Regions from separate parts of the Homo sapiens genome. Here region 1 is linked to region 2. Evidence: promoter capture Hi-C in 16 types of primary human blood cells and fetal thymus (Javierre and others, 2016). All regions are on one chromosome and are shown on one strand. The core of a region is centred on a gene start or on the middle of the fragment in contact, and the rest is flanking DNA. Distances in the headings are between cores, read along the strand shown. Region 1 overlaps CFAP298-TCP10L (CFAP298-TCP10L readthrough). Region 2 holds the start of MRAP-AS1 (MRAP antisense RNA 1).

Region 1 (3,714 bases), core at 1,215-3,714, 300 kb before region 2:
ATCTCTGCTCACTGCAACCTTCGCCTCCCGGGTTCAAGCTATTCTCCTGCCTCAGCCTCCCAAGTATCTGAGATTACAGGCGCCCACCACCACGCCCAGCTAATATTTGTATCTTTAGTGGACACGGGGTTTCATCATGTTGGCCAGGCTGGTCTCGAACGCCTGACCTCAGGTGATCCGCCTGCCTCCGCCTCCCAAAGTGCTAGGATTACAAGTGTGATCCATCGCGTCTGGGTCATTTTAATTTAAATAAATTTAAATCGCCAAGTGGAGCGAGTAGCTGCCGCATTAGACAGCATAGTTTTTGAACTTGACGGGATGATACTTCCTGATGTGGTCTAGGATATTACTGTTTATATAACTATCGTGTATATATAGAATATACAAACGTAACTATTTGCAATAAATAGTATATTCATTTATGTGATTTATTAAATTGCATGAATATGTGATTTATTATGAAATGTATTGATTACATTATATGAATATGTGAGTTTTGCACCGTGGAGAAATTCCTGAGGGTCATGGTTCTTTTCATGAAACTTATGTGTAGTTTCTTAATTGAGGTTCCAACACAAACTCAATATTAAATGTTATTTTTAAGTTAAAGCATTTGAGGAGAAAAGGAATTCATCTTCTTTTCCTATAACGTTATAAATTGGAAATGTGCTGAATGCTAAGAGTCACATTAGTGAACTGAAAATTCATGTATTTATTCTGCACCAGTGCTCAGCCTTCAGAAGACAAGGATGGGGCCGGGCGTGGTGGCTCACACGGGTAATCCTGACACTTTGAGAGGCTGAGGCGGGCGGATCACTTGAGCCTAGGAGTTCTAGACTAGCCTGGGCAACATGGTGAAACCCAGTCTCTACTAAAAATACAAAACGTGGTGACACATGCCTGTTGTCCCAGCTACTCGGGAGGCTGAGGCGTGAGAATCGCTTGAACCCGGGAGGCAATGCTGCAGTGAGCTGAGATCGCTGCAGTGAGCTGAGATCGCGCCACTGCACTCCTGCCTGGGTGACAGAGGGAGACCCTGTCTCAAAGAAAAAAAAGACAAGGATGAATAAGACCAGTACCATGCCCCCGTGTCAAAGGCCCAGGCCAGGTCTGGCACATAGCAAGTGGCATATAAATGTTTGTTCCATAAAATAGTGAGCCAGATGGGCAAGACCCCTGACTCTTTGGAGCTTACATTCCAATGGGGTATGAGGTGTTATGATTGTGATACTGTCTTTCACTTATTTTTAAGAAATGGAAGAATTAGCCGAACATGGCATATTTCTCCCTCCTAATATGCAAGGACTGACCGATGATCAGATTGAAGAATTGAAATTGAAGGATGAATGGGGTGAAAAATGCGTACCCAGCGGAGGTGCAGTGTTTAAAAAGGATGATATTGGACGAAGGAATGGGCAAGGTAAGTGAGGATTTCTCTTCTATGTGCATGCTTGATACAGGCATAAGTATGAAAACAGTTCCTTTTTTTTTTTTTGAGACGGATTCTTGCTCTAGCCCAGGCTGGAGTGCAGTGGCACAATCTCAGCTCACTGCCACCTCTGTCTTCCAGGTTCAAGCGATTCTCCTGCCTCCGCCTCTTGAGTAGCTGGGACTACAGGCATGTGCCACCACACCTGACTAATTTTTGTATTTTTAGTAGAGACGGGGTTTTGCCATGTTGGCCAGGCTGGTCTCGAACTCGTGACCTCAGATGATCTGCCGGTCTCGGCCTCCCAAAGTGCTGGGATTACAGGTGTGAGAAAGCAGTTCTTTACGTTTAAAAATTGACCTCGTCATTTCTCTACAGACTTACAAAATACTGTACTCTGTAGCTCCTTTGGTAAAACTCTAATCTAGGATGAATTAGGTAGATAAAGGAAGCTTTTGTCTTGCTCTTTAATAAGTTGCAGCTTGCTTTTATATGTATTCGACGAACCAGATGAAATGACCCTTTCCCTTCTGTAGCTCAAAAATGGTTGAGTATTGGCAATTTCATGTGTTTCCACCTAATAATTGTTGGCAGGTCCTCACCGCAATGTATTCAGAGTTGTGTTTTGTTACTGTTCGCAAATGTTGGGGGATCTTTCGAGATGGACTGTGTGAAAGAGGAAAGGGAAAGCATGTCAGCACATGGACTTCCCTGATCAAGGACATGCTTCTCTCTGGGGCAGAGCACTTCAGTACACGGCAAAACACTGAGGAAATTCCTCTCCTTTCAGTGTTTGGCTGATCATGTGGAATTGATGATAATCCTTTTTGATAGCTTATTCTTTTTAACCTGCATTAAAAGCGCCATTTAAAACACTGTAATTGAACAGCCCTAAAACACTGTTAGGAGTAAAAGAACAGTATTCCTGCAAGGCCTTTAGCAGCTCAAAAATACATTTTTTTAAATATCAGGGATAGTAAGAATTCCTAGTATTTTTTCCTTTCAATGTTAACCTGAAAAATGGTTGTCTTCCACAGCTTTCTTACGTAAGAAGATGTGGTAAGATGAGGAAAAAAAATATGAGAACCAGTTAACAGTTCATTATTCATCATTAAACCAATATGTAATATGTTCTTAAATTAACCACCTTTTTTTTTTTTTTTTTTTTTTTTGAGACAGAGTCTTACTCTGTCACCCAGGTTGGAGTGCAGTGGCACAATCTCGGCTCACTGCAACCTCTGCCTCCCGGATTCCAGTGATTCTCCTGCCTCAGCCTCCAGAGTAGCTGGGATTACACATGCCTGCTACCATGCCCGGCTAATTTTTGTATTTTTCATAGAGACAGGGTTTCAGCATGTTGCCCAGGCTGGTCTCGAACTCCTGACCTCAGGTGATCCACCCATCTTGGCCTTCCGAAGTGCTGGGATTACAGGCGTGAGCCACTACGCCCAGCCTAACCACTTCTATTATAATACAATCTTGTGTTTCTAATATTTTCAATGTCTAATTAATACTGTTATTTACTAGGAATGTATGGTTTCAACTTGCCCCATTTTCCCTAGGTTTGGGCATTCCATCTTCTTCTTTTTTTTTTTTTTTTTTTTGGCTTCTAAGCTTTCAAGTTATTATTTTTTCCTGATCTAGGGGTCACCAAATTATGGGCTACAGGTCAAATTTAGCCAGCTGCCTATTGTAAATAAAATTGTAAGGAGACGCAGCTACCCCAGTTATTTAAGTATTGTCTGCTCTTGTGCTACGTGGCAGAGCTGAGTTATCCCACCCAACAAGACTGTGTGGCCTGCAAAGCCTCAAATTTTACTCTCTGGCCCTTTCCAGAAAAAGTTCACCGGCCCTGTTTACCCAACGACATGCATTTCTGTTTTTTGTAGCCTTTGCCACTTTGCGTAAAGCACACTCCAGGTCTCTGCTGTTGGGAAGAGGTCTTCACCTAACTTCCGGCAGCCAGGTTTCTTGCTTCTCTTCCCTAAATTCCACACTCGCACTCTCTCTCAGTTCATTTACCCCCTGACTCAGACAGAGGGGATTGAGGTATTTCAGAAGAGGCTTTGTATTTGACAGCTCTTTCTCCCTCTCTCCTTTTTATTTTTATAGCTCCAAATGAGAAGATGAAGCAAGTGTTAAAGAAGACTATAGAAGAAGCCAAAGCAATAATATCTAAGGTTGGCTTTTTTAAATGATGCACTAAAACTTGTTGGGTTTTTTTTTTTTTTTTTGGAGATGGAATTTTGCTTTTGTTGCCCAGGCTGGAGTGCAATGGTGCGATC
Region 2 (5,524 bases), core at 2,568-5,067:
AGGGGAGACACTTTCTTGGGCTCTGTCTTTGAAAGGCTGTGGGGAGGTTGAAGGTGCAACTCAGGTCCCCAGACTGCAGTGAGCTGACCTGGCAGGGCAGATGCCATCACATCTGGGGGAGCCGGCGGGTGTTAGTGGAGCTTGGATGGGAACTTACCCAGCATCCTAACAAAGGTACAGAAGGACCAGGTGAACTCAGGGCTGATAACGCATTACACAGTAATGGTAAAGTGGCATAGTAAAGATTAGTAAGCAAACAGCTTTTCCTCTTGATTTGCATATATTTTATTTTCCTACTCTTCCCTGAGCAAATATAAGCAGTAAGCAAGCAGGCTAGGTGTGCTCAATAAACTCAGCAACACCTGGGATGACCTCTGCACTCGAGGGGCCACTGCAATCTTTGTCAAAGGCATAGGATGCTCCTGCTCTAGTTGCACTTGACCTAGGTGCCCTTTCTGCTACATGCAAATGGCCTCTAAGAAGAACGAGGAACGTATGTGTCCAGGTTGGCTTGATTTCACCAGTTCACTCAGCTATGGCCACGATTTACTGACATCAGCTCTGCAATTGAGAGGTCCTGTCTCCAGGGGGAGGCTCGCTGGGCTTGCTCCTGACGAGGGGACCCCCATTGAGGGTCAGTTCCCAGAGGAGAGTGGGGTGGGTCTGGAAACCCCCGAGGGGCAAGGTGGAGGAGCTCTCCTGTCGTAGCGGCTGGTCAGGGCCAGTTCTGCTCCCTGGCTCCACTGAGCTCGCCTGAGCCTGTGAGGTTGCCAGGGGTTCCCTGTGGCACGGCAGGCACTTCTGGATGCAGAGGTGGAGGTTGAGGCCGTGACTCCAGGGGCATGTTTGGTGGTGCTTGGGGCTGTTCCTGTGAACAGAGCAGAGTGGGAGGCAGGCATCATAGTTGCTGCAGAACAGTCCATACTGTGGGGCTGGGGGGTTTCCTGCCACACCTGCCATCTGCCCGGACCCCATAGGGAAGGCCACACAGGCAAATTCCTGAGAAGGGTCAGCCAGCTCACAAAGGTGGCCATTCTAGAGAAATCTCAGAGGAGAGGAAGTGCTTTGTCAGGAACTAGGCCTCAGGTCTTTCCCTGGAGGCCACTTCTTCCTACATTGATTTAGGATGGGGGGGGTGGGGGGTGGAGGGGAGCAGGTTGACCTCCCATCCAGCGCTGTATCTGAGTGTAGTTCATTTTATATCCATAGCCCAAGCCAACTTGTATCTTGGTGATATGGTTTGGCTGCGTCACGACACAAATCTCACCTTGAATTGTAATAATCCCCACGTGTCGTGGGAAGGACCCAGTGGGAGGTAATTGAATCATGGGGGCGGGTCTTCCCATGCTGTTCTCGTGATAGTAAGTCTCATGAGATCTGATGGTTTTATAAAGGGGAGTTTCCCTGCACATGCCCTTTTGCCTGTGTCATGTAAGATGTGGCTTTGCTCTTCCTTTGCCTTCTGCCATGACTGTGAAGCCTCCCCCGCCATGTGAAACTGTGAGTCCATTAAACCTCTTTCCTTTATAAATTATCCAGCCTCGGATATGTCTTTCTTAGCAGCCGAGAACAAACTAAAACACTTGGCTAGAGATGCATCCTCCCTGTGCCAAGCATGGAGGTTCACACCTGTAATCCTAGCACTTTGGGAGGCAGAGGCAGGTGGATCATGAGGTCAGGAGATCGAGACAATCCTGGCCAACATAGGGAAACCCCGTCTCTACTGAAAATACAAAAATTAGCTGGGTGTGGTGGTGGGCGCCTGTAATCCCAGCTACTCAGGAGGCTGAGGCAGGAGAATCACTTGAACCAAGGAGTCGGAAGTTGCAGCGAGCCAAGATTGCGCCACTGCACCCCAGCCTGGCAACAGAGCAAGACTCAGTCTCAAAAAAAAAAAGAAAAAAAAAAGAAATGTGTCCTCCCTGGGTGGATTCTCCTGCCCGGGAAGTGCTGGGGCAGTGGACATGGCCATCTGGAGTGAGCTCTGGCCACCACTTCCCAGCTGCCTTTAACGTCATCCATAAAATGGGACAATATTGGCTCACAGATATCCTCAGGATGAAATGAGATGATGTATAAAACGACTTAAATGTGGTTACAGCGCTGGCACAAATGAAGAGTACCAAGTGATGAACCCACTGGGCAGAGGCCATGCTTTCAGATGGCACTCGCCTAAGAATGCTCTCCCCACCTCCCTCCTCCCCTCCCCCCCCCATCATGGGAAGGTGTCAGCTCCTCAGGGAATGACTCCTAAATCTTGCTGAGGATCCACTTTGCCGCCCTGAGCATTCCAGGAATGTTACCAAGTGCCTTGAGAGCATTTTCTTTAGTAAGCCATGTAGCTGGTCAGGATGTATAGTGTCATCAGTTTGCCCCTGTGAAATAGCCCAGAAGGCCTGTGCCCCCCAGGGAGCTGGGCGTGGTGGAGGCAGCCCCTGGGCTTGCCGGACCAGACCAGGGATCTTTGCACCTTCCCTGGCATAGGGCGGCTGCAGGTCATCTCAGAAGAGTAGTAAAGAAAGGTGACATCACTCGTTTATCCCTCAGATGTGTCTTGGGTATAAAAATGTGCTTAAATTGAATGTGAGTTCTAAAAACTGAAAGAAAAGAACAGATTTCAGGCTGTGCACAGTGGCTCCTGACCTCAGTGATGCCATCTCGGCTAACTGCAACCTCTGCCTCCCAGGTTCAAGCGATTCTCTTGCCTCAGCCTCCCGAGTAGCTGGGATTACAGGCACCGGCCACGATGCCCAGCTAATTTTTGTATTTTTAATAGAGACAGGGTTTCGCCAAGCTGGCCAGGCCAGTCTCGAACTCCTGACCCCAGGTGATCCACCCACCTCGGCCTCTCAAAGTGCTAGGATTACAGGTCTGGAGTTTGAGACTGGCCTGGCCAACTTGGCAAAACCCTGTCTCTACTAAAAATACAAAAATTAGCTGTGCGTCGTGGCGGGTGCCTGTAATCCCAGCTACTCGGGAGGCTGAGGCAAGAGAATAGCTTGAACTTGGGAGGTGGAGGTTGCAGTGAGCCGAGATCACGCCACTGCACTCCAGCCTGGGTGACACAGCGAGATTCTTGTCTCAAAAACAAAAAAAAAAAAATGAATTTCTTCATTGCTCTAAAGCTACCTTCCATATGTGACCAAAGGTGAGCGGAAATGGCCTGGCGAGTGTAGCCCTGGTGGGTGAGACACCACGGGCAGGGCAGGCAGGGGCGGGGAGGAGAATCAGAGGCCCCTTCAAGGTAATGTTGGGCTGTGGTATGGTTTGTCCCCACCAAAACTCGTGGAGACCTGGTCCCCAGTGTGGCAACACTGGGAGCTGGGACCTTTAAGAGGTAATGAGTTTTTTTTTTCTCTAGACTGAATTAGATCTTTTTACAAAATGAGGCCCTCACCAGAAGCTAAGCAGATGTCGGTGCCATGCTTCCTAGACTTCTAAGCCTTCAGAACCATGAGCTAAATAAGCCTCTTTTCTTCATAAATTACTCAGCCTCAGGTATTCTGTTACAGCAACAGAAAACACTAAGACGCTGTGCCAATGCGCGAGTCCACGGCTCTTCACGGGACCTGGCATGGGACGCACTGGCTCAGGGGCTCCAAGGCCACTCAGCTCTTCCTCAGCACAGTTTGGCTCATCTCTCTGCTGACCAGCTTCCTACGCTTAGGGTTTCCAGTCCCCAAGACTTCCGTCCGTAATGGACATAATGGTCTATAATGGCACCCAGCCCTAGTCCTCCTCCTGGACCAATCAGTGCAGCCCCCATAGCCACCAGGTCCATCCCTCAGGTTCTAGATTCCAAATTCCAAAGATGAGAATCTGACCAGTCCCAGCTCTTTTGCCAGGGCACACGTTTCCAAGGGCATGGGCCAGCCACTGGACAGGCCCTCTTCGGGTGAGCGATGGCAAAATATAGGGTCCCTCCTAAGAACAGTCATTAGGAGAGCAGCAGCTGTGAGGGCTGATTAGCCTAGAAGGGAACATTGGATGTGTCAGCCAATCCTCTAGCACAACAGAATTAACATAAAACAAGGTGGGTTCCAATTACTCCTTAAAACTCCTGGATTTCACCTCCAATTTAGTGGCACACAGCAGGCATCTGAGAACAGATGCTGGCCATAGGTGCCTAAGGTAAGGATCTTTCTTTTTCTTTTTTCTTTTTTTTTTCTTTTTGGAGACAGAGTTTCTCTCTTCTTGCCCAGGCTGGAGTGCAGTGGTGCAATCTCGGTTCACTGCAACCTCTGCCTCCTGCGTTCAAGCGATTCTCCTGCTTGGCCTCACGAGTAGCTGGGATTACAGGCATACACCACCACACCTGGCTGATTTTTTAAAAATATTTTCAGTAGAGATGGGGTTTCACCATGTTGGCCAGTCTGGTCTCAAAGGCCTGATCTCAGGTGATCCGCCCACCTTGGCCTCCCAAAGTGCGGGGATTACAGGTGTGAGCCCCCACACCTGGCCAAAGGTAAGGTTCTTATGTTCCTGGTGAGCTGGCCGGCAAGACTTAATGCCCATGGTGTCAAGTTGGCTTCATTTTCTTTAACAGCTTTAGTGAGATATATTTTCATTCCATGAGGTTGACTCATTTAAAGAGTACAATTTCAGTGGTCTTCAGTACATCCATAGAGTTGTGCAACCATCACCATAATCTAATTTTAGAACTTTTTGTTTGTTTGTTGAGACAGGGTCTTGTTCTATCACCCAGGCTAGAGTGCAGTGGCGCAATCACAGCTCACTGCAGCCTTGACCTGCTGGGCTCTAGTGATCCTCCTGCCTCAGCCTCCTGAGTAGCCGGGACTACAGGTGCGCACTACCATGCCCAGCTAACTTTTTGTTATTTTTTATGGAGATAGGGTCTCGAACCCCTGGGCTCAAGCGATCCTCCTGCCTTGGCTTCCCAAGGTGCTGGGATTACAGCAGGTGTGAGCTACTGGGCCTGGCTTAATTTTAGAACTTCTTTTTTTTTTTTTTTTTTGAGACGGAGTCTCACTCTGTTGCCCAGACTGGAGTGTAGTGGCACAGTCTCGGCTCACTGCAACCTCCGCCACCTGGGTTCCAGCAATTCTCCTGCCTCAGCCTCCTGAGTAGCTGGGATTACAAGTGCGTGCCACCACGCCCGGCTAATTTTTGTATTTTTAGTAGAGACAGGGTTTCACCAAGTTGGCTAGGCTGGTAACTTGAACTCCTGACCTCAAGTGATCCACCCATCTCAGCCTCCCAAAGTGCTGGGATTACAGGCGTGAGCCACCACGCCCAGCTTAATTTTAGAACATTTTTATCATCCCCAAAAGAAACCCATCAGTAGTCATTCCCCCTTCCCCGCTCTCCCCCCAGACCTAGGCAGCTGCTAATCTGCTTTCTGTCTCTACAGAATTTGATTTGCCTACTCTGGATGTTTTGTGTGAATGGAGTCATACAACATGCAGCTCTGTGTCTGTCTTCTTTCACTTAGCATGATGTTTTTGAGGTTCATGCATGTTGCAGCATGGATCAGAACTCCATCCCTTTTTATTGCTGAATACTA

Evidence for each region. The method cuts DNA at HindIII sites, captures the fragments that hold promoters and counts their contacts. A CHiCAGO score of 5 or more calls a contact.
Region 1: a contact is called between a fragment that was not itself captured here and the fragment with the promoter of MRAP-AS1 in region 2, in 1 of 17 cell types (endothelial precursors). The highest score is 5.0, in endothelial precursors.

Annotation. Positions count from the first base shown.
Region 1 is chr21:32,607,544-32,611,257 of GRCh38, reverse strand. It overlaps CFAP298-TCP10L (CFAP298-TCP10L readthrough), which reads left to right. Exons shown (of 12, transcript NR_146639.2): 2 at 1,253-1,420; 3 at 3,542-3,609. It overlaps CFAP298 (cilia and flagella associated protein 298), which reads left to right. Exons shown (of 7, transcript NM_021254.4): 2 at 1,253-1,420; 3 at 3,542-3,609. Among named protein-coding and RNA genes, the nearest start is that of CFAP298, 3.0 kb to the left of the region's middle. The HindIII fragment of the contact is 1,162 bases long and covers 1,884-3,045 here.
Region 2 is chr21:32,307,028-32,312,551 of GRCh38, reverse strand. MRAP-AS1 (MRAP antisense RNA 1) reads left to right here and starts at 3,817. Exons shown (of 2, transcript NR_187556.1): 1 at 3,817-4,033. It overlaps MRAP (melanocortin 2 receptor accessory protein), which reads right to left. Exons shown (of 3, transcript NM_001379228.1): 3 at 262-868. The coding sequence ends at 556. It overlaps URB1 (URB1 ribosome biogenesis factor), which reads left to right. Exons shown (of 39, transcript NM_014825.3): 39 at 1-1,534. The HindIII fragment of the contact is 11,077 bases long and covers 1-5,524 here.